5 separate regions of the Homo sapiens genome follow, and all the other regions are linked to region 1. Evidence: promoter capture Hi-C in 16 types of primary human blood cells and fetal thymus (Javierre and others, 2016). All regions are on one chromosome and are shown on one strand. Each heading gives the region's core, a stretch centred on a gene start or on the middle of the fragment in contact. The rest is flanking DNA. Distances are from core to core; before and after follow the strand shown.

The links. Contacts are between HindIII fragments. The CHiCAGO score rates a contact against its expected background, and 5 or more counts as called.
Region 2: a contact is called between the fragment with the promoter of MED30 here and the fragment with the promoter of EBAG9 in region 1, in 1 of 17 cell types (activated CD4 T cells). The highest score is 9.5, in activated CD4 T cells.
Region 3: a contact is called between a fragment that was not itself captured here and the fragment with the promoter of EBAG9 in region 1, in 2 of 17 cell types (non-activated CD4 T cells and total CD4 T cells). The highest score is 5.8, in non-activated CD4 T cells.
Region 4: a fragment that was not itself captured here is called in contact with the fragment with the promoter of EBAG9 in region 1 in 1 of 17 cell types (total CD4 T cells); the score reaches 5.9 in total CD4 T cells.
Region 5: a fragment that was not itself captured here is called in contact with the fragment with the promoter of EBAG9 in region 1 in 1 of 17 cell types (naive CD8 T cells); the score reaches 5.4 in naive CD8 T cells.

What each region holds. Positions count from the first base shown.
Region 1 is chr8:109,537,981-109,542,924 of GRCh38, forward strand. EBAG9 (estrogen receptor binding site associated antigen 9) reads left to right here and starts at 2,193. Exons shown (of 7, transcript NM_004215.5): 1 at 2,193-2,481. It overlaps EBAG9UORF, which reads left to right and starts at 1,746. Exons shown (of 1, transcript NM_001436381.1): 1 at 1,746-1,820. The coding sequence starts at 1,746. The coding sequence ends at 1,820. RefSeq lists a silencer at 1,592-2,141 and an enhancer at 2,202-2,561. The HindIII fragment of the contact is 10,757 bases long and covers 1-4,944 here.
Region 2 is chr8:117,518,033-117,522,976 of GRCh38, forward strand. It overlaps MED30 (mediator complex subunit 30), which reads left to right and starts at 2,681. Exons shown (of 4, transcript NM_080651.4): 1 at 2,681-3,021. The coding sequence starts at 2,845. It overlaps LOC105375716 (a long non-coding RNA gene), which reads right to left and starts at 2,688. Exons shown (of 7, transcript XR_928569.3): 1 at 2,522-2,688; 2 at 1,007-1,145. The HindIII fragment of the contact is 1,953 bases long and covers 2,323-4,275 here.
Region 3 is chr8:116,868,741-116,873,684 of GRCh38, forward strand. All of the region lies in intron 1 of RAD21 (RAD21 cohesin complex component), which reads right to left. Among named protein-coding and RNA genes, the nearest start is that of RAD21-AS1, 3.2 kb to the right of the region's middle. The HindIII fragment of the contact is 1,678 bases long and covers 2,005-3,682 here.
Region 4 is chr8:116,771,661-116,776,604 of GRCh38, forward strand. UTP23 (UTP23 small subunit processome component) reads left to right here. Exons shown (of 3, transcript NM_032334.3): 3 at 1-3,024. The coding sequence ends at 182. Among named protein-coding and RNA genes, the nearest start is that of UTP23, 7.6 kb to the left of the region's middle. The HindIII fragment of the contact is 7,781 bases long and covers 1-4,944 here.
Region 5 is chr8:116,752,701-116,757,644 of GRCh38, forward strand. It overlaps EIF3H (eukaryotic translation initiation factor 3 subunit H), which reads right to left and starts at 3,123. Exons shown (of 8, transcript NM_003756.3): 1 at 2,966-3,123. The coding sequence starts at 3,097. The HindIII fragment of the contact is 4,157 bases long and covers 692-4,848 here.

The sequences.
Region 1 (4,944 bases), core at 943-3,442:
TAAAGCAATCAACTCTTTAAGAAAAAAAATTTAAACACGTTTATATCCGAATATAGGTTATTTTGGATTTTTTTTTTTTTTTTTTTTGAGTCAGGGTCCTGCTCTGTCTCCCAGGCTGGAGTGCAGGGCCCAATCATGGCTCACTGTAGTCTCGACCTCCCAGGCTCAGGTGATTCTTCCCACCTCAGCCTTCTGAGTAGCTGGGACTACAGGCATGCGCCACCAAACCTGGCTAATTTTTAAATTATTTGTAGAAACGGAGTTTCGCCCGTTGCCTGGGCTGGTCTTAAATTCCTGGGCTCAAGCGTTCCTCCTGCCTCGGCCTCCCAAAGTGCTGAGATTACAGGCATGAGTTACCGTGCCCAGCTAGATAACTCGATTTTTTAAATCCAAAAAAAATTTAGAAATTTTATATTGAAATTTAGGCATTAGAATTCTAGAGATTAAAGTTAGAGCAGGTGTTTAAGGGACTGAAAGGGGTTGCATGGCCTTTGGGAAATGCAATTACCGGAAATGATACTGTAGTAATGCAATAGTAATGCAGTAGTAGTAGTAGCTGCAGCAACAACTGTTATCTATGAATGTTTGCTATGTGCCAGGCTCTGTGCTAAGAGAGCTTTGCAAGCATTACTACTGCATGAAGTAGGCACTATTATGGCCATTTTACTGATGAGGAAATTGAGGTGAACAGATTAAATAATTTTACCCAACTTTACACAGAACCATTCCAGAGCACGAGCCATAAACACATCTTTCCCGTCTTGGAAATTAAATTATTAATAAAAAACGTGGTGCAAATTGGAAAGAGGACGGTTGTGGTAGATTATCACAAAGTTAAGTGGGTAGGTGGTTGCTGGGTCAGGGTGGGAGAACAAAGGCAGCTGTAATAAAAAAAAAAATTAAAGGCATATAAAGAAAAAGGCTTGTTGAGAACAATTTGCATAAACTGATTTTGGCCTTAGACCCTATTCACTTCTCCCTCACCAGTCACTTTGCAACTGTGGAGCATAGTATTCTGAGGGTCCCCTGCACATAACAACCCCTTTCATAGCATACAAGATAAAAAGAAGAATCAGGCTGCAAAGAGAGAAGCACTGAAGGAAAGAACATCTCAGGTTGAAAGAAGGGCAAGTCCAGGGTGCATGTGAGGAACAAATGCATGGACACGGTGAAGTGCCACTTCTTCATTTCTAGTTCAACACAATTCAATTAAAAATTACTGGGAGGAGGCTACGTCTTGAATTAAACTCAGCATTCCACATCTTTGAGGTGGCGGAATGACTGAGGGGAGGGGGTCTGTCTAGCCACATCCAAATCTTCCTGAGACAGAGGGAGATCCCTCATTTGTTGCAGTGTATTTTCCTTGGTCGCATCTGACACAGGGGTTCTGTGGGTTGAACAGAAAGGGACTTTGCTGGAGGGGAGGCACTCTGCATAGAAGGAAAGTAGGGACATCTGGCAGAAGCAGGCGCTCCGAGAATAAACAGTCAAAGCAGCTCGCAATAGTCCCAAAAAGCTACCCCTCACCGAACCTGGCGTGCCTGTCGCCGCTTGCCCCGCTCCCAGGGCTCATTGGCTCCCAGTCTCGACGTCAGACCCGTAGCCTCTCACCTATTGGGCCAGCCAGGACCTGAGGCGGAGTGCAGAAGCGAGGGCCTGGAGACAGCCGAGAGCCGCCTTCAAGGAGGGCTGGGGGCGGGGCTAGAGGAGGGGCTGGGGGCGGGTTTCCCGATGAAGGGGCGGCCATGGCAGCTGCGCAGAGGCAACGCAGGCTGCTACGGAGCGCGCGCCCGGCTTTGAATGAGCGGGGCTGGGAGTGAGCGGGCGGAGCGCGAGCTCGAGGAAGAGACAGGCAGCGCGCGTGAGCGCGCCTTGTGTGCGCGCGCGGCCCGCGGCAGCTCGGAGCCTCCGCCGGGCGGGCGGGGAGGGGGAGGGGCAGGTGAGTGTGTGCGGTTCGCGCGTGCCTGGGAGGGGCTTTCCTCTCCCTACCCCCATCCCGACCCCAGCCCTAGCCTCTGGGGCATTGTCTGCCCTTCGCCGTCGGCCCTCCGCCTAGCCGCGCACTTCCCGCCCTCCCACCTTCCTTTCGCCCTTCCACCAGACCTCCCTCGACGCCCGACAGCTGCTCTGGGTACTGTTTCCGGGTCAGGGTGACCTCTGGGGTGAGGAAACTGCGACTGGGAGCGGGACCCAGGCGTGCAGCATTCGCCATGCTCCGCTCACGCGTGGGAGACTGGGCTGTGGGGTACCGGCCCGGAAAGCACGCAGCCTCCAAAGCCGCCTTCCTCAGGGAAATTTGCGTGACCTTACTGCCCTCCGTCTACAGGCCTTGTACCTCTCCAGGCCGATTTTTCCACAATTTAAATCTCAGTTCACCTGGTATCCAGCTCCAGCAACTTAGAGCGTTTCACGTCACGCCGGGCGCCAGGCGTCGGCTTGTATAACCTGAAAACGCTCCTGTTTTTCTCATCTGTGCAGTGGGTATGATTTTTTTTTCATCAACAAATTTCACGTGGGTAATCTGAAATGAAACCACTTAAGTTATGAAACTCTTTCCTTTTGAGTTATTCTGGAGACCTTACTCCGCCTTCGGAACCGCCCCAGTGGTGTCACATACTTGAGGGCCTGACTCTCGGTTGCCAGACATGGCACAGAATGTTCGATTTTACTACCAGCTCTCACACTCCGCTTCTGTTTCCCCTTCTCTTACGGGCCGCTGCTCAAACCTTTATTTATCAAATTTAAGTGAGTTCAGGTAAATTTTATTTTGGGAGCTTTGTAATATTTTCTAACCCACTTCAGAGAGTTATAGTTTGAGGATATTCTGGACTGTACTAGATCATATGGTTTTCAAATTTTGGTATGAAAAGATTCGTAAATAGAGTTTTAGAAATACAGCACCTGTTTAGTATGTACCGAACATAGATTTTGGCTTTGCTTGTTTTGTGAATTGTGATGTATTGAGGCTACTTGAAAGGACCTCTAGCAGTTTACCGAGAATTTCAACAAGAAAAGATATAATACATTTGATCTATCAGTTTCTAATGTAGCATTCTTTTTTTAATTGTATTTTTTTTCCGTTAACATGGCAGAGCTCTCATTCTTGATTTCCTAGAGTTGTCATTTCTTCAAAAAGCCTTAATGAGGATACATTGCCTCATAGTTTTGAATCTCATTCTGATATACCTCAAATTTTTGTCTTTGTAATTTTTAAGGAAATTTAATGTTAAGATTAGATTATATTAACATTGTTCCGTTCTAGAAAGTGTTTTAAAGCAACTAAAGTGTAAAGTAGCGTAAGATACTTATCAAATTGGTGATCTAGAGGGCATTTCAAAAATCGCACTGAGGCAATGTGCACACAATTAAAAGGTTTCTTAAGTAGGATATGATGTAGGGAGAGCCTTGGGCTTTCGGGTCAGTCCCTTTAAATCCTGGGTAAGTGAATCTAAGTCTGTCAACCTCATCTATTAAACGGGAGTAGTGAAAAACCTACCTCTTTTGGTTGTCCTTAGGATTCCAGTGAGGTGATCGAACATTGTCTTGAGCGTTCAAGTGCTCAAGGAATGTTAGTTTCCTTCCATTCAACAAATATTTGAGTACCTACTATGTGCCCGGCTTTGACTGAGACCTATAAATACCAGAATGAGCAAGACTGATGGACGTCCTGCCTCCTTAGTTTCTTGCATTCCTCAGGGATAAGTTTATGGGCAAGCTCATGACAACTGGGAGTGAACGCAGAGTTTCCCCATGCGGAGTTGGTAGTATTTCCCAGCTTCCAAATCCAAAGTAGCGACTGAAACATAGTAGGTGCTAATATATATTCATTTAGATGAATAGGGACATTAAGTAAATACAGGTCTCAAAGGATATTCCTGCCTGCCAGTCAGTGTGATTGATAAAATCAAAGTGTGGCTTGATCGCATTTTCCCTATTTTAGTGCAACTGGTTGGAAAATTTATCTTGGAAGTGGTAGTATCACTGAATTATTAAGAATGTTCCTTGTTCATGAGATGTTCTTGGCTTTTGAATTAAATATACCTAGGTTTGAATGGAGTCACTGGATGTGCTTACTCTGTGTTTAATTCAATGAAACAAGGACAATAGTATCTATGTCATAAGATGGCTTTTTGAGTTGTGTGTTAACATTTTGATAGTGCATGGTTCATAGTAGACAGTCAATGAGTATCAGTTCTCCTCTTTTATTAATCACAAAAGGAAGTTTTCTGCAGAATGAGGATATTCTTGATTGCTAGGGAGAGAATTCTATTCTGTAATCACTAAAAGACCCAGTTTCTATTTTTTATTGGGAAAAAAAAAACAACCTTTAAATTTTACCTCCAGTTAGCATTGAAGTTATTCAAGTTGGCAAATATTTATAAAACAATGACACTAACAATATTTGGAAAGGTGATGGCTGTGGTTACTAGGGCAGTTTATGAAATTTATTCTCAACTTTTATTCATGTATATCCTAAAACTGACAGTCCCAAATGGTAAATATCATTTTTCTTCACAACATACTGATAGAGTATCTCCTTGATTCTATTTCCTTCCCTGCCAAGTACCACACGTTCTGTAGTCTCTTTTCTGGCTCTTTTTTCTTATAATTTTTCAGAAAATTTAGGCTAATTTTCATTTGAGAAAGTTTTCTTTTGATTGAGAGTTTTGTTCTTGACAAATCAGCTTTAAATGAAGTGATTGTTCACCATCATAATTTTTCAGATCATTCTACTCATAATGAAGCAATCAAACTTTTTTTTCAAGTCTTACTTTGCAAATGGTAACTGAAGGTACCAAATGAATAAAATACTCTAGAGAAGGGTTGTACAGGGCAAAGTAAGGTATAGAAATAACCATAATACAAAATAAAAAATGTTGTTTCTTGGGAAGAGTAAAATACTAGAATTAAGAAGACTTTACAGTACTCCAGCAAGAGGTAGTA
Region 2 (4,944 bases), core at 1,431-3,930, 8.0 Mb after region 1:
GGAAAAGTGTGGTAAAGAAGGTTGGGAGGGATCAAGAGTTGGGTTTTCTTAGACATAAGTTTTAGATGCCAAATAGCCATCCAAGTCAAGATGTCAGGTTTTTAGGTATGTGAGTTTGAATTTAGGGACAGTTTGGATTGGCGGCATGTGGTAGGCAGATTTTAGTTACTCCCCGAAGATGTCCACATCCTAATTCCCAGAGTCTGTATGTCATGTTACATGGCAAGGGGCGATTAAGGTAGCAGACGGAACTGAAGCTGCAAAACAGCTGACCTTAAAATAAAAAGATATCCTGGATTATCTAGGTGGACCCGATGTAATCAAAATGATACTTAAATGAAAGAGAGGCAGAGGACTCAGAACCAGAGATATGGCATATTCAACTAGCCAATTCTGGCTTTGAAAAGGATGAAAGCTGGTTTTTGCAGTTGGTGGAAGTGGTCATGAGCCAAGCAATTGCGGCAGCCTTCTAAAATCTGGAAAAGACAAGGAAACAGATTCCTTCTGAGAGCCCCCAGAAGGGAACACAGCCCGCCAACACCTTGAGCGTAGTTCAGCGAGAACAATTTCAGACTTCTGAGCTAAAAAGCTATAAAATAATAAAAGGTGTGCTGTTTTAAGCCACAAAGTTTGTGGTAATTTGTTACATGTGCAATAGGAAATTAACATAAGGCATAATTTCTCGGAAACTTATTTTTTCTTCAGTGTATCCTGTCTTGGTAAATGACATAAACTTCACCTGAAGTTTCACATGAAAGCAGAAATACGTGCCATCCTTAATTCTTTCCTCTCCTTAATGTTCCTGATCCAGTTACTATCAAGTTCTCTAGATTCTACTTACTAAATATTTATTCAAAGTTACCCTCTGTCTCCTTTCTCTGCACAGGTCATGATCATCATCATCATTCCCCTTTGGGAGAGAAGACAATAGAAACCCACCATCTGTTCCCCATTTAGCAACCAGAATAAGTGTTCTAAAATGAATATTTCAAATTATTCCTCTCACCTTGAAACTCTTCAATGGCTTGCTATTTCACTCCATAAATTCTCAACTGCTTGACATGGGTTAGAAGATCCTCCAGGGTTGCCTCTGTCTTCAGCCTTATTTCCTAACACTCGTCCTCACACTGAACTTCTTCCAGATCCTAGAAAGCATTAGGAGGCCTCTTCACTTCAGGTGTTGGCACTGGCCTTCCTCGTCCTCATAGAAAAGACTCTATCATTCGTTACTCCCTTCCCTATCCACCTTCAGGTTCCACACTGCTCCCTTCAGGTCGTTCTCAATCTCCTAAATTGTTAGCACCCTGATATCAGGAACTTTTGCTTCAAGACGCTCATCACAATAGTGTTCTGTTTGTCCCCATGACAAACATGCTGCAGGGCTTTTGCCTGGTTTGTTCAGTACGCTATCTTCACTCCTAGCACCCAGCACATAATAGGTGCTCAGCCAATATTTGTCGAATGGTAATTACCGAAGACCTGCGAATTACTATGTTTAAAATCTCTACCAGGGTTCCTATGACATATTTAGTAACTATTTCCTGGAAAGTCCGTACAATGGAGCATTCAGATACTTCTAAAAAATGCAATGTTTGTGCCTATCACTAATTTTACATTCTTCACTTTTCCCCACTTTGGAGATGAACAGTAAGTGAGAGACATTGTGAGAGACATTTTAATTTCTCTTGCATTTATCATGTCACTCAACAATCATTCAATAAGTATTTATTGATACTTGTGCCAATCACTAGGTGTTGAGAATAAGTGAATAAAATAGTCTGTTTTCATGGAGTTGGCAGTGTGTGTAGATAGGGTGAGATAAAGTCTGAAAGTAAACAAACTGAAAGCTATATAAAATATCAGACAGTAGGCCGGGCGCGGTGGCTTATGCCTGTAATCCCAGCACTTTGGGAGGCCGAGGCGGGCGGATCACGAGGTCAGGAGATCGAGACCATCCCGGCTAACACGGTGAAACCCCGTCTCTACTAAAAATACAAAAAATTTGTCGGGCGTGGTGGCGGGCGCCTGTAGTCCCAGCTACTCGGGAGGCCGAGGCTGGAGAATGGTGTGAACCCGGGAGGCGGAGCTTGCAGTGAGCCGAGGTCGCGCCACTGCACTCCAGCCTGGGTGACAGAGCGAGACTCCATCTCAAAAAGAAAAAGAAAAAAAAATCAGACACTAATAAGAGCCAGAGTCAGAAAGAAGTGTGTGTGTTGATCATTTTTTTTGCTTACAGATACTGGGAAAACTCAAAGAATAAAACATCTGAGCAGGGACCAAGAGCAATCGGGGAGTCCGTATCATGTCACAGAGAAGCGTACAAGCTTAGGAATCTTGTTTTCTGAATTCGAATCGCAGGTTGCCAGTTACACCTGTATGCGACTCAACAAGTACTTTAACCTGTCTCTTAGCTGTTATACTACAAACCTCAGGCTTGTTAAGAGAAAATGCTCCGCAAGGAACTAAACACAGAAGGTTCTAACGCTGAGCCAAGACTGGGAAACGAACTCTGGGAACTCACCCCAGGCTCCCCAAGAACATCGCCCCTCTGGCTGGAGCGCAATTGGTGATTGGCTACTTAACCCGTCCGTCCTTTCCCGCCCAGGGGTCCAATCCAATCCAGCCCGGCTCCGCTCGGAGACAGTTCGCCGAGTGGGCGGTGTCTATGACGTTTTCTGACGTGTTACGTCACAGTGGGCGGAAGTCGCGGCCGCTGTTTTGAAATCGGGCCGCGGGGGGTCTCTCAAGCTGGTTCCAACGCTGAGGCCCCACAGCCTCCCAATTCCGGGCAGACCCCTGACACCTGCTGTCTGGCCCCTTCCGGCCTGAAGCTGCAGCCGCGCCATGTCCACCCCTCCGTTGGCCGCGTCGGGGATGGCGCCCGGGCCCTTCGCCGGGCCCCAGGCTCAGCAGGCCGCCCGGGAAGTCAACACGGCGTCGCTGTGCCGCATCGGGCAGGAGACAGTGCAGGACATCGTGTACCGCACCATGGAGATCTTCCAGCTCCTGAGGAACATGCAGGTAGGAAGGCGGGCGCGCGAGGCCAGGGGGATGCAGCTGGGAGGGAAAGGGCCTCTGGTTTCCTCTTTACGTGGGGCCCGTGGATGTCATCGGGGCTGCCCTGGGCAAACCTTAGGTGTAGGGTCTCCCCCATTCACACTCAAGAGTGTCCCCAAAAGTCGGATTTGTAGAGGTGATGTTTTCCAGACCAGATTTCTGCAGAATTGAAGCCAATTTTTTTTAGATTCAATCGAGCTCTTTAGTTACTCTGTAAACTCTTGCACCTTTCAAGGCAGAGATGGGTCGCACTCCACTTCCCTCTTTAGGTTGCTTTAAATGTTTTTTCCAGCATTTCTTCTGGGGAGGTCCAAGGAGTTGAAGAATTTACATTTTTTTTAAAAAAACAGTCCTCCTTTTTTTGGCATAGTTAATATACAGTAAACTACACTCACCTAAAGTTTTGATATATATGTGTACTGTAGTCTGTATACTTGTGAAATTATCACCACAATCAAAATAGTGTACACATCATCCCAGAAAGTTTCTTCATACCCCTCTGACATCTTTGCTTCCCACCTTCCATCGCTAAGCAACCATTGATCTGCGTTCTGTAATCATAAATTAATTTGCATTTGCTAGGGTTTTATATAAACGGAGTCTACAGTATGTGGGCTTTTTTTTTTGTCTGAGATCCTTCACTAAGAATGCATCAATAATTTCCTTTTTATTGCTGAGTAATGTTCCATTGTATCCATGTATCACCATTTGCCTACCTTTTCTTCTGTTGATGGACATTTGGGTTGTTTCCACTTTTTGGCTGTTGTAAATAATGCTGCTATGAACTTTTGCTGACAAATTTTTGTGTGAACGTATGTGTCATTTCTCTTGGACAGATTCAGGAGTGGAATTGCTGGATCATGCAGTACATGTCTGTTTAATACTTTAAGAAACTTTTCCAAAGTGGCCTGAGCCATTTTACGTCCCGATTATTGCTAGTGGGAATGTAAACATTGCTGTTTGAGGGTTCTAGTTTCTCCTCATCCTCATCAACACCTGTTATGTCTTGATGCTTTCCAAATACTTCTCCCAGTCTATCCTGCCTTTTTATTCTCTTAATACTGTCTTTTGAAGAACAGACATTTTAAATTTTGATGGAATCCAGCTTACTGATTTGTTCTTTTATAGATTTTGGTTTTGCTGTCATACCTAAGAAATCTTTGCCTAACCCAAGGTGACAAAGGGTTTCTGTTTTCTTCTAGAAGTTTTGTACTTTCAAGCTTTATATTTAGGTCTACAACCTATATTTAGTTTTGTGAGTTTTTAAATATGTATACATAGTGGCAGATACGGATCCAAGTTCATTGTTTTGCATTTGGATATCCAGTTGTTCCAGCACCATTTTGCTGACCCATTTTTAATGCTTGCTTATATTACCCACTACATGTAGTAGATATTATTTTTGTTTTACAGATGAAGATTCTGTACTTCAGAGAGATAAAGTGACTTGCCCAAACCTAGTCAGTGGTAGGGTAAATTTGAAACCAAGTTTTCAAAAATCTTACAGCTCTTATTTCTGTGGGTGTCCAAAAAAGTGTTTTATTGCTTTTTTTTTTTTTAACTGGTCAAGACTTTTTTTTTCGTCCTGATTATAAGAGTAATTCAGTTTCGTGGAAATTTTTAAGACCATGTGAAATATAGTACAAAGGAGATCCAGGAGAAATTATGACATTCTTTGGCAATAATTTAAAAAAATGAATAGATTCATATCTAGAATGAATAAAGTACGGATTAAATAATGTCTCAGAATTTAGCATACTTTAAAAAAAATTTTGTCCTGTTATATGCAAAGCACCGAATAATACCTAACACTTACGAAGTACTTTCCTTGGTCAGGTACCCTGTTATAGGAGCAGTTTTAAGGAGTATTTTTATCCCTATTTTACA
Region 3 (4,944 bases), core at 1,594-4,093, 7.3 Mb after region 1:
CAGAGGAAACACAGTCAATGTAACAGAACTGAGAACCCAGAAATAGCCCGCACAACTAAGTTCAACTAATTTTTTTTTTTTTTTACAAAGATGCAAAAGCTATCTAATGGAGAAATGATACATTTTTCAACAAATGGTGCTGGAGTGATTAAATACGATCTGAAGACCAGAAAACATGCACGCACGCACGCACACACCCCCCACAAAACAAAAAAGGCAAGGAAAAAACCCTCCACCTAAATCTCACACATTATATAAAAATTCAAAATAGACAAAACTTTTAAAAAATGGCAGAGGGGAACCTTCAGTACCTAAAGCTTGGTAAAAATTTTGACACATCAAAAACACAACCCATGAAGGAAAAGTTCTTGCTCAATAAACTCGCCTTTATCAAATTAAACTTTTGCTCTACGAAAGAAATGCAAAGACAAGCTATAGACTGGGGAAAAAATATTTGTAAACCACACATCTGACTAGAACTCAGATATAGAATATGTAAAGAATTCTTAAAACTTCAGGGGTAAGAAGAAAAAAAAACTCCAATTAGAAAGTAAGCAAAAGAGGCCAGGCAGGCTGGCTCATGCCTGTAAACCCAGCACTTTGGCAGGCCAAGACAGGCAGATCACTTGAGGCCAGGAGTTCAAGACCAGTCAGGACAATTTGGCAAAACCCTGTCTCTACTAAAAAACACAGAAACTGCTACGTGTGGTGGCATGTGCCCGTAATCCCAGCTACTCAGGTGGCTGAGGCAGGAGGATTGCTTGAACCCAGGCTGTGGAGGTTGCAGCGAGCTGAGATCGCGACACTGCATTCTAGCCTGGGTGACACAGCAAGACTCTGTATAAAAAGAAAAAAAAAAGTGAGCCAAAGAAGAGAAATTTCACAGAAGAGGTTTACTGATGACAAATAAGAACATGAGATGTTCAATTATCCTAGGCATTTGAGAAATACAAATTAAGGCCAAAAACATTATCACCACACACTTAATATAAGAGCTAAATTAAAAAATAGTGGCAACATCAAATGCTGAAAGACACAGAGAAGCTGGATCTCTTACACTGCAGGTGGGACTAAAATCTCTTGAATTAGCTTTTCTCTAAAAGATACAGAGTAATTATTTTTCATTTTTTCACAGTCTGTAAATCTTAAAGAATTTTGCTTACTGTACTTTCAATTAAAAATGTGCCAATTCTTTCCCATGATGTAGAGAAAATATATTTTAGTTACGCGTATCACAAGCAACAGATTTCTTACATGTCAAAAATATTTTGGAGGGTGGGGGGCTGTGGTGCAAGACTACTGCAGTCAGGTTTGCTTTATCTCCATTTCCATCACTTAAGAGTAAAGAGTCTTGAAATTCTCATTCTCTGAATCTAATGTTCCCAAAGGATTATTAATTCATACTAAAAAAACTTTTCCTCAAAAGAAAAAAAACCAGGCTTTGTCAACTGTCTAATGTTGTAAACTCTTCCTCCCAAATTTGGAGTTAAGGAAGGAAGAAATTGGCTAGCGGTGGTGGCTCACGCCTGCCATCCCAGCCCTTTGGGAGGCCAAGGTAAGAGGAATGCTTGAGGGCAGGAGTTCCAGACCACCCTGGTCAATATAGCAAGACCCCGTGTTTATTTTTTAAAAAAAAGAAATTAAAGAATGAAGAAATACTATATTCTATACTAAGAACTCAGACAAAATATTCTTAAGGTACGAGCATTAAATAACACCTCAAAGGTGCTTTATTTGCCATTTGTTATTTTATAGATTAAAACATGCTTCCCATACCGGAAGAGAGCCTCCTATGTTTCAAATCAGTGCCTACTTCAAGCCTTAAAATGTTATCACAAAACTTAAGCTGCTCCTACTATGTTATAAATAAAATCTAGAGAACTTTACAGAAATCCAACATAGCAGCATGTTCTGAGAAATATAATCGCTGTTGTACAGGACAAGCCCCAAGTTCCACTATGGAAGCAAGCAACTGTATCCTAAACAAAAAACTCCTTAATATTAAGCTTCTAGAATACTATCTGTGGCATGACAATTACTAAATATGTGCTTAATGAATAAGTAAGTAAGATCCACCAAGTGATCTCATAATTGGCATATGTAAAAAATTTTAGACGTTTTAAAAATTAAAACTACTGGCATTTTTCAACAGGTGTCAGTAGCTCCTGGCCAGCACTTCAGCTGCTGGTCAGAGCACCGTGCCTAAAATATCCCAGCTATGCAGAGGCAGAGATTCCTAAACAGAAGCCTGTTTGGCATAGGATGGGGCTAAGGAAGGCAGAGTGATGCTAAAATTAATGTGGGAAACAATTAGCAAGAGGAAATCACTCTAATAACTAAAGGAAGCCAAAGGAGCAGTGGTGGATCGACTCCTGGTGTATATCTGAATAAGGAGAAAGTGTAATTATAATTGCCTTTTAAGCCTATTTTTTTTTCCTTGATAATACCAAACTTCATCCAATCTTTAAAAAAGTCGATTAATCTGTTTAGATTTTGAAGATTCTATATTCTGCTAAATCCTTTATGAAAACCCTGTGCAGAAAATCTGCATTTGATACCAGAGCACAACTTAGCATTTCATGATTTGAGAATCATTTTTTTCTAAAGCGGCAAGCAGTTTTTTTCAATTGACCCTAAAAAATTAAAGTCTGATGTGAAACAGCAGAAAGATTGCTATTTTAGAACATATTCAAGAATACAAAAAATGGCAATTTAAGACTGTTTCAAAGAATCAAACTGAGGCTCATGCTTCTAGGATAGTATCAGTCATTACCAATATTTCACTCATTAGAAAGCATGGCAGGACTGCGGTTGTGTAAATTGGTACTGTCCTCTCTGAAGGACAATATGACAACATTTTATAAAAATTTCACTTACACTTTCTAGCCAGAACTTGCACTTTCAGTAATCAATACAAAAGATATACTTGGAGATGCATATTACTAAAGACAAAACCAAAAAACCAAACACGAAAAAATCCTAAGAAAACTTACTAAGCACTACGTGTTTTATGTATCCAACCTCTTCATGACTGTCCTACAGAAGTAAATTACTGGCCCATTTTAGAGATGGAGAAAACAGATGAAGATAAGTAAATGTCACTAGTATTTAATGGAAGTGGAACTTGAACTTCAGAATCCACACTTCTAACTACAACACTATGCTGCCTTGCCAGAGCAGAACAGAACATTCGAAATAACCTACTTGGCCATCAATAAGTGATATGAAAAATTAATAAACCCAAACAACGGAATATAGTCGGTCCTCCTTATCCATGGCTTCTTGCATCCATGGACTAAACCAACCCAGGATCAAAAATTGTTGGAGGGGGGGACAAAAAAACACAATAATAAAAAATACTACTAATAAAAAACTATAACAACTATATTAACTATTAACATAGCATTTACATTGTAATATCATAAATGGAGATGATTTGAAGTATATGGGATGTTAGTAGGTTATATGCAAATACTACACTATTTCATATAAGCGACTTGAGCATTCGTGGTTTTGGTTCTGGAACCAATTCCCCTTTAATATCAAGGGACAATTGTACAGTACAACTTTAAACAAGAATACAACATTTGTACTAACATGGAAAATCTCCAGGTTAAGTGCAAAAAAGTTGGAGTTTTAAAAAAGAATGCTCTTTCTCTATATATTTACGAGTTCTTGAATAAGCTTAAAATACCTGTGGCGTACACATGAAACTGGTGATACTGGTTACCTCTGGAAAGTAGGTATGCAGGGCAAGTGAGGCCTACCTTTTTGTACTGTTTGATATATATATATACATACACACACACACACACACACACACACATATTTTAACTCGGGACATAAATGTACACCACCTATTCAAAGTAAAAACTACTATCTCAGAAGTAAAGACATAATCCTGCTATTGTCATTAACTAGCAGTTAAGCTGCCTAACCTTTATGCAGTTCAGTTTCCCTACTATGAAAACCTGAAAGGTTGAAATCTGGTGGTTTACCTAACCTTTGAAAACGTCAATACCTAACTCAGATCAGAACGGAGCTACCTCTTCAGGGGAGTAGGGGGAAGGATCTCTGAAGATATTTCTAACCCTGCACACTAGAAATCTCCTCTGTTTTGGTTCTAACATCCTTTGACCAAGAGTTTTACAATCAGACAGTCGTAGGTTCAAATTAAGCTCCCTCTTTGCTCAGTTGTTTTGTAACGGTGAATAAGTTACTTCTCAACTATAAACTGGGATAATATTCATCAAAAAAGATTATGAAAATTAAATACAAGGGCACACCTAACATAGTGCCACTGCTGATGCGAAAAGTAACTCTGAAGACAATCTTGCAGCAAAACATTAACCAGCCAGTATAATCATGCCTAACAACTCTGGTTTGACATTTAAACTAAAAACACAACCTTATTTCTCAAGAATTAGAAAATTTCCATTCTGTACCAAACTGTAAAAGCGTTTCTTAGAATTTGTATGTTTCACAAAATAATTCACCAGAAATTCTTTTGTAATTCTGACTTGTGTATAAAAAAAAGCACTATGTCTATTAGTTATGCACTGCTGTCACCTCAACTATACAAACTGTTAACTTATTTGAAGATCAGATATGGCGTATGTCCTCATCAATGCCTTTCCAAAAATAATTAGTTGCCTCCGACATTAACAAAGGTATTTAATGACTTCACGATTTGAGAAACCTTCTCCTGCCTGTCTCCAAAATTCTATAGACTCGCACTGCCCGCTGGCATTTACACCCAATTTAAGAAAATAGAAATTTTTGCCTGAAAACCAATTACTCTTCTAACCAGTATAATGACAACAAAGATTAACTTTCCCTTGCAAAAAGAAGCCGATAAACACAAGCCTTTCCCAGAAACTCTTCGCACAAACGCTGTTTTTTTTTTCACGCTGAAGACACTAACAAATCAGAGTGACCAAGTAA
Region 4 (4,944 bases), core at 755-3,254, 7.2 Mb after region 1:
AGAGTAGAAGAAAAAAGCGCAAGAAAATAAGTGGTCCCAATCCTCTTAGTTGTTTGAAGAAAAAGAAAAAGGCACCGGACACACAATCATCTGCTTCTGAAAAGAAAAGAAAAAGAAAAAGAATTCGGAACAGATCTAACCCAAAAGTACTTTCTGAGAAGCAGAATGCAGAAGGAGAATGAATCCTTTGGATACTTTCAAGGACATTCAAATGTGAAAATGAATTTTTTACAACTAGAAGTATTTATAATAAAAGACCAAACTTATTTTTGTAAATGAACCCATATGCTTTAGCTAAAATTAATTATAAAATAAAAACAGTGACCAGTCTAGCCAGCATGGCAAAACCCCATCTCTACTAAAATACAAAAATTAGCTGGGCATGATGGTGCACAGTTGTAATTCCAGCTACTCAGGAGGCTGAGGCATGAGAATCGCTTGAACCTGGGAGGCAGAGATTGCAGTGAGCCCAGTTCGTGTCACTTCACTCCAGCCTGGGCAACAGAGTGAGAACATGTCTCAAAAAAAAAATAAAAACAGTGAATGGGTGTAGGTGTGATGGAATTCACTTTACTTACTAAATGGTTTCGGGAGGTTGTTTCTCCAGGTAAAATTGTCGCCTCTCTGGTCCCATTCCCACCTTCAAACATTATATGCAAACAGTTTTAAAAAATCTTACAGTTCTAAAAGGCTTGTGACAAAAAAAGAGGCAGTCCCTCTTTCACATTGACAGAAGAAACTTCCTCTTTCAATTCTAGTAGTTGAAGAATTTATATTTCCAAATTGTATGATTATACCGCTACTTTTTGATACATCAATTATTTATTGACTTCCTACTAGAAAGAGTGAAATTTTGCCCATTTATACTGCACCATTTTTCCAGTATATGAATATTTTACTCTTTGTACATCAGAAACTCAGTATTTTCATTATTATGACTAGAGTTTTTTTGTTTGTTTGTTTGAGTTCTACTTGTCCAATAAGGATGATGATTTTCTTTTAGATGTAAATGTTAACTTCAATAGCAAGAATTCAAAAATAATATTCTCTTTGAGATTGACTGTGAATGTTATTGAAAAGTGTCTAAATTAGTCTGAGGATCAATGAGGGTCAATTCAGTTAGGAATTGAATAATGAAACGTGTCTCTCTGAATTCCCCCGGCAATTGTTTTAGTCATTTATCAGGCCAAAATTAAAATGTTTTTGTACTACAAGATGGAAGTATAAAATTATTGGACAAGTGAAATCGTATCAGTAGTTCCTGACTGACAGCTTCTGGAGCCACACTAGAGCAGTGATTCTCAGTCTAACATTAGGTTATCATGATGACGTATGAGTAAATTCTTAATGGTTAAATGTGAGACAGTTCACATTTATTCCCATAGAAATGTCATTCTCATTTGAATTCAGAGATACTTCTTTGCTGGAAGTTGGAATTATAGCTTTACACCAAGGAGTGACACGTAGACTAATCTGGCAAGCCAAGGTAGTGTTTGGATTGCAATGTCATGATTCTATTTTAAATTCTTGATGGTAGAAACATTTTTAATAAGGAAGGTAAAAATACTGGAAAAAAGTGAATAGTGTAGGTTTTGTGAGGAAAGTTAACATTTGTCAATGACAAGCATTAAGGCCACCTAATAAAGTGTAGACAAAGTGATAAATGAAATATACACTGATGATACTCATTTCAATATGCTAAAATACATTAAATTTAGGTATTACTCTTAATCTATTTCTACTTAGTCAGTGCTATCTGATTACCTGTTAATAGCATCTGAACTGGAGAGCTGGAAAAATCCACTTTTTTATGAAGCAGTAATTATAGAAGTACTAAAAATTACAATGTATTAGTAAGTTTAATATTTTGACAGGGCATGGTGGCTCACACCTGTAATCCCAGCACTTTGGGAGGCCGAGGCTGGCAGATCACAAAATTAAGAGATCAAGACCATCCTGGCCAACATGGTGAAACCCTGTCTGTACTAAAAATACAAAAATTAGCTGGGTGTGGTGGTGTGCGCCTGTAGTCCCAGCTACTCGGGAGGCTGAGGCAGGAGAATCGCTTGAACCCAGGAGGCGGAGGTTGCAGTGAGCCAAGATCATGCCACTGCACTCCAGCCTGGTGAGAGAGTGAAACCCCGTCTCAAAAATAAATAAATAAATAAGTTTACTATTTTAAAACTGGTTAATCATTTATGTATTTTGCCAGTAAAATTACTTTAAAAGATATTTTAACAAAAGTCTCATATCCTTGTACTTCAGTTTTTTTGTGTGTGAATACTATCCCTATACCACTACCCCTAAAACCTCAGAATTATTTGCTTTATTTTTTCATACAACTTGGGGAAGGGAACCATGGGAGTATGCACATGGGATCATAATCCATTCTGTGGTTTGGAAAAAGAAAATGTTAACCTCTGCTTTAGAGGGTAGCTACTAGCTTTGTTGGGGATAAAAGTGTAATACATGCACTTTTGAACTCTGAAAGTTTGCCAATCTGAAAAGGGGTGTTTCTGAAGACCACTATCTTTTACGAACACTTAAAAATAAGTGTTTGCAGTTGTGTATGGGCACGATACTGTATTCTTTACATTTTTATGGCCCTACAGCTACTTCTTATCCCTGCAAGTATATAAATTAAAACCAAGTCACTTTAGAACAGCTTTGAAACTAGAGTTTCAAAGGTAAAAGGATCTCATGTTTCTGAATCTGCGTAAAGCAAGATGGCTGTGATTTGACAGGTTTAATTGCTAGTTTTTTATAGGTGGATAGAAATGAATAGTTTGGAGTCTTTAAAATGTTTTAAAAAATGTTTGCTTACTATCTATATATATGACATTATTCCCAATTAGTTTTATATCTCCAAGATATATATATGTATATAGGTATATACACATATGTATATATACATAGTCTATATATTCTATATAAGAATATATTCCAATAAGAATATATTCCATACGGGAATATATTAGTCATTGATGTATTTTGCCGGTAAAATTAAAAGATATTTTAACAAAAGTCTCATCTCCTTGTACTTCAGTTTTTGTTTTTTTTTGTTTTTGTTTTTGTTTTGTGAATACTATCCCCATACCTATATTCCATACAGGAATATAGTCTATATATTCCATATAAGGATATATTCTATATATTCCATTTAATATATTCTATAAAAATATATATTCCATATAAGAATATAGAATGTATAATACACGAATTTGTACTGAGTAGAATGTGTCAATACATATTTGTTGAATGAATGAAAATGAAGGCCAAGTGTGGTGGCTTATGTCTGTAATCCCAACATTTTGGTAGGCCAAGGTAGTAGGATCACTTGAGCACAGGAGTTTGAGACCAGCCTTGGCAACATAGGGAGATCTCATCTCTACAAATAATCGAAAAATTGCCAGGTGTGGTGGCATGTGCCTGTGGTCCTAACTACATGGGAGGGTGAGGTGGGAGGATCACTTGAGCCTGGGAGGTTGACATTGTAGTGAGTCTTGATCATGTCACTGCACTACAGCCTGGGCGACAGAGCAAGACCCTGTCTCAACAAACCAACAAAAAAGTAAATGAAATAACGTCAGGTCTACCAGAAGGGAGAGTCATGACTCATCCAATTTCCAGACTAAAATAGTTCAAGGGCCAGAACTCCTTAATTTAAGGGGACGCTGGGTTCTCTTGAGAAAGAATCCAGTATATAAAAATTACAGTATATACTTGTAGCAGTGCTTCAAGTCCCCTTTCCCAAAGGGACCTGTGGCCACTTTCTAGAGGGACTGTGAATTGGGGAATAGAAATACTCAGACCTTTGGGAATATTTCTGGTTCTGAATTGATGCTAGTTGCTAGGGTCTCAAAATGCTACTGGACCACCATTTAGAGTAGGAGTTTATGGTGGTGAAGTGACAGAAAAATTGAGTTTTAGGTCAAATTTGAGTCCAGTGAGCTCAGTAGGTACTTGAGCCCATCCTGTTTATTCCCAGTTCAGAAAGTACAGTCGTTAAAGACATACTTGGTAACTGGTCATGTCCCCATATTGGCTCTCATTTATGGGCTAAGGGTCGTTAGGATAGGAAGGGTCAAGTAGAAGCTGTTGGAATTTCTCTTTTCTGCTGTATAATAAACCAAAAGATAGGACATCACTGGGGGAATTGCAGAGATTATTAACACTACTATCATCAAATGATAGAATGAGGTAGAAGTGTTTATTCCTATTACATCTCCATTTAATGCATCTATTGGGCCTCTGCAGAAGGTAGATGATCTTAAAACCAATGACTGTGGATTATTTTAATGTTAATCAGGCAAGATTTATTTCCAGCAGTTTTTTCAGATGTAATGTCTTCACTGGAACAATGAATACAGCTCTTCACACCTGATACAAAAATGTGCACCGCCCCCCCCACCCCCACCCCACCTGGCCCCTTCCCCATACCCTGCTCTTTATCAATGTGCTAGGACCACTAAAAGAACTTTGTTTTTTGGCTGACTGCAGTAGCTCACGCCTGTAATCCCAGCACTTTGGGAGGCTGAGGCGGGTGGATCATGAGGTCAGGAGTTCAAGACGAGCCTGGCCAACATAGGGAAACCCGGTCTCTACTAAAAATACAAAAGTTAGCTTGGCGTGGTGGTGGGAACCTGTAATCCCAGCTACTGAGGAGGCTGAGGCAGGAGAATCGCTTGAACCCAGGAGGCAGAGGTTGCAGTGAGCTGAGATCATGCCATTTCACTCCAGCCTGGGTGACAAGAGTGAGACTCTGTCTCAAAAAATTACATAAATAAATAAATGAAAAGAACTTTGTTTTTTCTTGACAAGGTTAATAGTACACCTTCACAGTCTTGCATCATGCATATGTTGGCTCATAGGCTCTCAGCCATAATATAGTCTGAAGAGATCTCGATTATCTTGACATTCTACACAACATCACATTGGCCCACT
Region 5 (4,944 bases), core at 1,520-4,019, 7.2 Mb after region 1:
AAAGAAAGAAAGAAAGAAAGAAAGAAAGAAAGAAGAGAAAGAAAGAAAGAAAGAGGGAGGGAGGGAGGGAGGGAGGGAGGGAGGGAGGGAGGGAGGGAAGGAAGGAAGGAAGGAAGGAAGGAAGGAAGGAAAGAGAGAGAGAAAAGAAAAGAAAAAAGAGAGAGAGAAGAGAAGAGTTTAAGGAAGGAGTTTTTTTTAAATTGTATCTGGGCAAACGTGGGTATACCTATCATCCATGTGGAGATAGTATTCAAGATGGATGATTCTTGGTTACTCCATCTGCAATAATCCATTAATAAAATTTAGAGTAACCAGTATTCCCTGTATTAACAATGTAAAACGCATAAAGAACATACCATTTAAATGTTCCCTACATGATTTATGGTAACTGGAAAACATTCACCATTAAAAAATGAGCAACCAAGATAAAAGAACCTTGCAACTGCAATATAATCTAGCTGCCTAAAACCATATAAATGACAGAAAGGCAGATGTCCAAAAAGGGGGAAAGTTGTTAGGAACTTATTTTGTTAATATCTACCCAACCGATGGAGAACAAAAGCACAGAGGTACCCACCACCGTGAATAAGAGATAATTCACTAAGTTCGTCAAGAATCTGGATATAAATAACTCTCAAGTAAAATAATCCTTTACCTGCTCTTATTATGATTGATTTTGGAGTCACTGGTAAGCTTCTGATTTTTTTTATTCGATTTCCAAGGTGCTTTGGTAATCAAAAGGGTCTTTTTGGTGGTAGATATGAGCGTTTTCACCACTGAAAAGGTATGTCTTCCACAGTAAATGAGTAAATCAACATTTACATGTATATAAACCAATCTCCTGTGAGAAGGACTAATTGGTTCCTTAGCATTAATCAATTCTGAGAGAGCTGATAAAAAATAATAATTTCTGAGTCCAAAAAATTGAGAACCAGTCTCTTGACTAAGCACCCTTGTGAAACCTGAAGTGATCCAGTCCATCTCCACCTGCAGGTCTCTGTTTAATTCAACAATCCCTCTTAAAGCTGCCAGGACATTGTTACTGAAGTGCTTTTACCACTGCCCTGTGTTAGATAGTATTTGGCACTTAACAGAATGTCCTAAAATATTTGCTAAATAAATGATCTCCAAATAGATTTATGCCACCGACCTGTTGCCTTTTTCAACTCTGGAAACTAAGTGATTCAAAGAGTGCTGTTGTGACATAGCAAATTTAATAAGAAATATGTTTCTAAGAAATAAACATTTCCCAAGTGCATAAGTGGTACTTATTTTAACAAGTGTAATCTAAGTCCACCCACTAACTTTAGAGATTTGCAATCTCTAAAGATACGTCATTTATTCCTGAACACACATCTGCCTCCCATGAGCCAGGGAAAGCCACAGTGCCAGTACACAGGCCAGATAGTACTCCATTTTCTTTTTTTTTTTTGGACGGAGGCTCGCTCTATTGCCCAGGCTGGAGTGCAGTGGCACAATCTCGGCTCACTGCAACCTCCGCCTCCCAGGTTCAAGCGATTCTCCCGCCTCAGCCTCCTGAGTAGCTGAGATTACAGGCGCGTGCCAACATGCCCGGCTAATTTTGTGTTTTTAGTAGAGACGGGGTTTCACCATGTTGGTCAGGCTGGTCTCGAACTCCTGACCTCCTGATCCGCCCGCCTCGGCCTCCCAAAGTGCTGGGATTACAGCCGTGAGCCACCACGCCCGGCCTGCATTTTCAAAGTATTACACAAGTGACATTTAGAACAAAACATTCCAAAGTTAATCTCTTGCCTGCATCTTTCAAACTCTGCTAACCACAGACATTAAACTCATAATAATAATCATAATTAACATTAAGTGATTACACTGTACTACAGGTCACCACATAAACTTTTTCATTTAATCCAAACAACTCTATGATACAGATACTTCTCATTCCCACTTGACAGATGAGGAAAGCAAAGCCTGGAAAGGCTAACTTGCCTTAAAGTCACAGAGCTGGTTAAGTGGAAGAGCCTAGAAGACTGAATGAGCTCTTAACCACCAGGCTACACTCTTGTATCCAGTTTAACTAAGTCAGTTCAACAGATTCAATTATATGCTGCGTTTAAATTATCAACAGTTTCCACTTAAAAATACCTGCTTGCAATTACAATTTTCACATGAATTTAAAAGTACTTTCTTATTACAAATATCTAAGATCTGCATTAATAGGAAATAACCTTTAAAAAAATCAAAGGAAGAGAGGATGCTTTTTAAAAAGAGGGCAGGAAGGATACTTTTAAAACTAGAACGTCATATAAATGCATTTTGCTTCGAAACAACAGAAATAAAATTTCTCATTCTAGATTTTCCTCTTCCCAGCTAAGTCCATTTCCTTATCAAGAATTTCCTTGGATGTCCTAGTTCATGAACCTTAACTACTAAATACATTTAAGGCCCTTCTCTTTGATATTCTTTTATGTTTTTCAGAATGAACACTACAAAAGAGTATTCTAAATTATACGGTTTCAGATAAAGCGCCGAAGTACAGGCTCAAAAGAGTGGCTACAAAGTACATCTCCACTTGGAACGTTATAGATGTCAGATCCCAGCAGGGAATCAGTGGAGTTTCCTTACTCTCTCCTTCCCAGAGCCCTACTAGGTCCCTAAATCCTTCTCGACACCTTCGTTAGCTGCTGGTCTCCAGGAGTCTTTCTTCAAATCCCCCCACCGGTCATCTCAAAACAAGACCCCAGGAACCTGTCACTCACACCCCTATTCTCAGTCCCCTTCCTGAAGCCCCAACTGTCCCGTTAGAAGACAAGAGAAGGCTGTCGAAGCTCCTGAACAAAAAGTGAAGATGAAAGAGAAACGTACTAGGGAAAAACTTTGGCCCAGCCACACCAAGCCCAAGGGGGAGAATGCTAGAAAGTACGTCTGGTGGGACGGGGCTGGGAACTGCGCTCCCCACGTGGGCCAGAGGAAAAAGAACAGCACTCACAAGGCCATCTATCTGCACTTGCTTCACGGCTGAATCTCCCGAGCCGCCTTTGCCTTTGCCTTTCCCTGCTGCGCCGGCGGTGGAGCTGGAAGAGGTGGCAGTAGAGCCGGTACCTTCCTTGCGGGACGCCATCTTTCCAAGCAGACAGGAAGAAAGAGAAACGTGAGTTACCGGAAGCGGAAGTACAAGTCTCGCGTGACGTCACTCGCAGGCCGGCGTTCGAGGGGCGGAGACGGAAGGAGAAGCCAAAATTGGGCCCCGCCTCCCTCCTGTTTTCCAGTTTTACCTTCTTTCCAGGCGGTATCCTTTGTGCATGCCTACTGTACATTTTCGACCTCTTTCCGATGGAATGATCTAAGATGAAAGTAAACTTTTTAAATGTTTAATCATTCACCACTAGGCAAACCGTCATAATAGCATTACAGTTCGCATTATTTCTGTAGTGTCTCTTATGTAAAAATGCTTTCATTTCTGATCTTGCAATGAAGTGCTGTACTAACTCGCATTATGCATATTAGAAAACTGATAAGTGATTTGTCCGACATTATTCTGTTAATTAGCGATGAGCCAGTATTGCACAGCTTGTTTTACGTAATTTTAGATAGCTGCTTGTAACCACTTAGATTATATAGAAATTAAGACATAGAAACTTTTATCAGAATTACCAGAAATAGTAGCCTTTTGCTATTAGCTTCATGTAGAGATTTACCTGAGTAAAGTACCAAAGAAGTTATCTGAGGTATTGTTGAAGGATGATACAGAATATATTTTCTAAAAATCACGCTGATTTATGACACATTACTCTGAAATACACATCTCAAGTCCTTAAAAGAATATATGACAACTGTAAGAAGCCATTTTAGATAAGTAATTTGAAACATTCTTTTCTACTTCCAAATGACTTTTTTCCTATCCCTTATTTTTGAAATGTTTATTCAATAAATATGTATACAGAACTGATGAAATAATTAAATCAATAAACGGCATATCCTGCCCTGAAGTTTTTTGTTGTTTTGTCATTGGGATCTGGTGTTATATTTCAATCTGGGAGGAGAAATAGTTACATGTTACAAATTCTTAACACTACAAAATGAAAAGTTAATATCCACTCATTTCAAGTGTATATGAAATATTTATTAAAATACACCAAACCCTAGGTCACACAGAAAGTCCACAAATTTAGAGGTTTTAAAGGTTGATCCTGGTAAAATTACACTAGAAATTGGTAACAGAACATTCACAAAAAGAAGAAAGAAAATCTCGCATGGAAGAACCAGACTGGAGGTTTTTGCCTACCACTAGGTAGCTGGAATGATGAGCATTAGAAAACAGTGAGGCTACTTATAAACAATAATACATTTATTTATTGCTTTATCCTACAACATACATAACACAGTTTTGTTTCAGAATTACAATACCAATATCCTCATAGCAGTAAAACTACAAAGTAAAGTTTAAAATATTTTGCAATTTTTTTGTCCTTGAAAATATCCAACTAAGGTTTTGCAGCCACGTGTGCTAAACATACTACAATGGGTTATTTTCATCTGTCCTGAGACAGTTCATGTGGGCCCTCTTTATGAAATACACTAGATGTAAGAGGTACAACTGAGAGAGAGAGAGAGAGAGGGCCAGAGAATATGAAGAATTTGAATTAGAAATCAATATGATCACCTTGACAAGAAAGGGCCCAGAAGCATTGACATTTCCGTCACTTCGGTTCCTAATTTCATTCCTATCTCACTGGCTACCTCCTTTATTCTCAGTTCCCATTGCTGATTTTTCTACCCCTTTTCAACCTTTAAATATTGAAGAGCACCAAATTTAGACTTTGAACATCTTCTTTCCCCTATTTTTGTTCTCTTTTATGGTGACCTCATCCAAGCTTTACAAAGAGATACACTCAAAATAATGTAAATAAATCAATATATTATTTAAAATGTTCAAATAACCCAGAAGAATGAAGAAAAAGAAAAGAG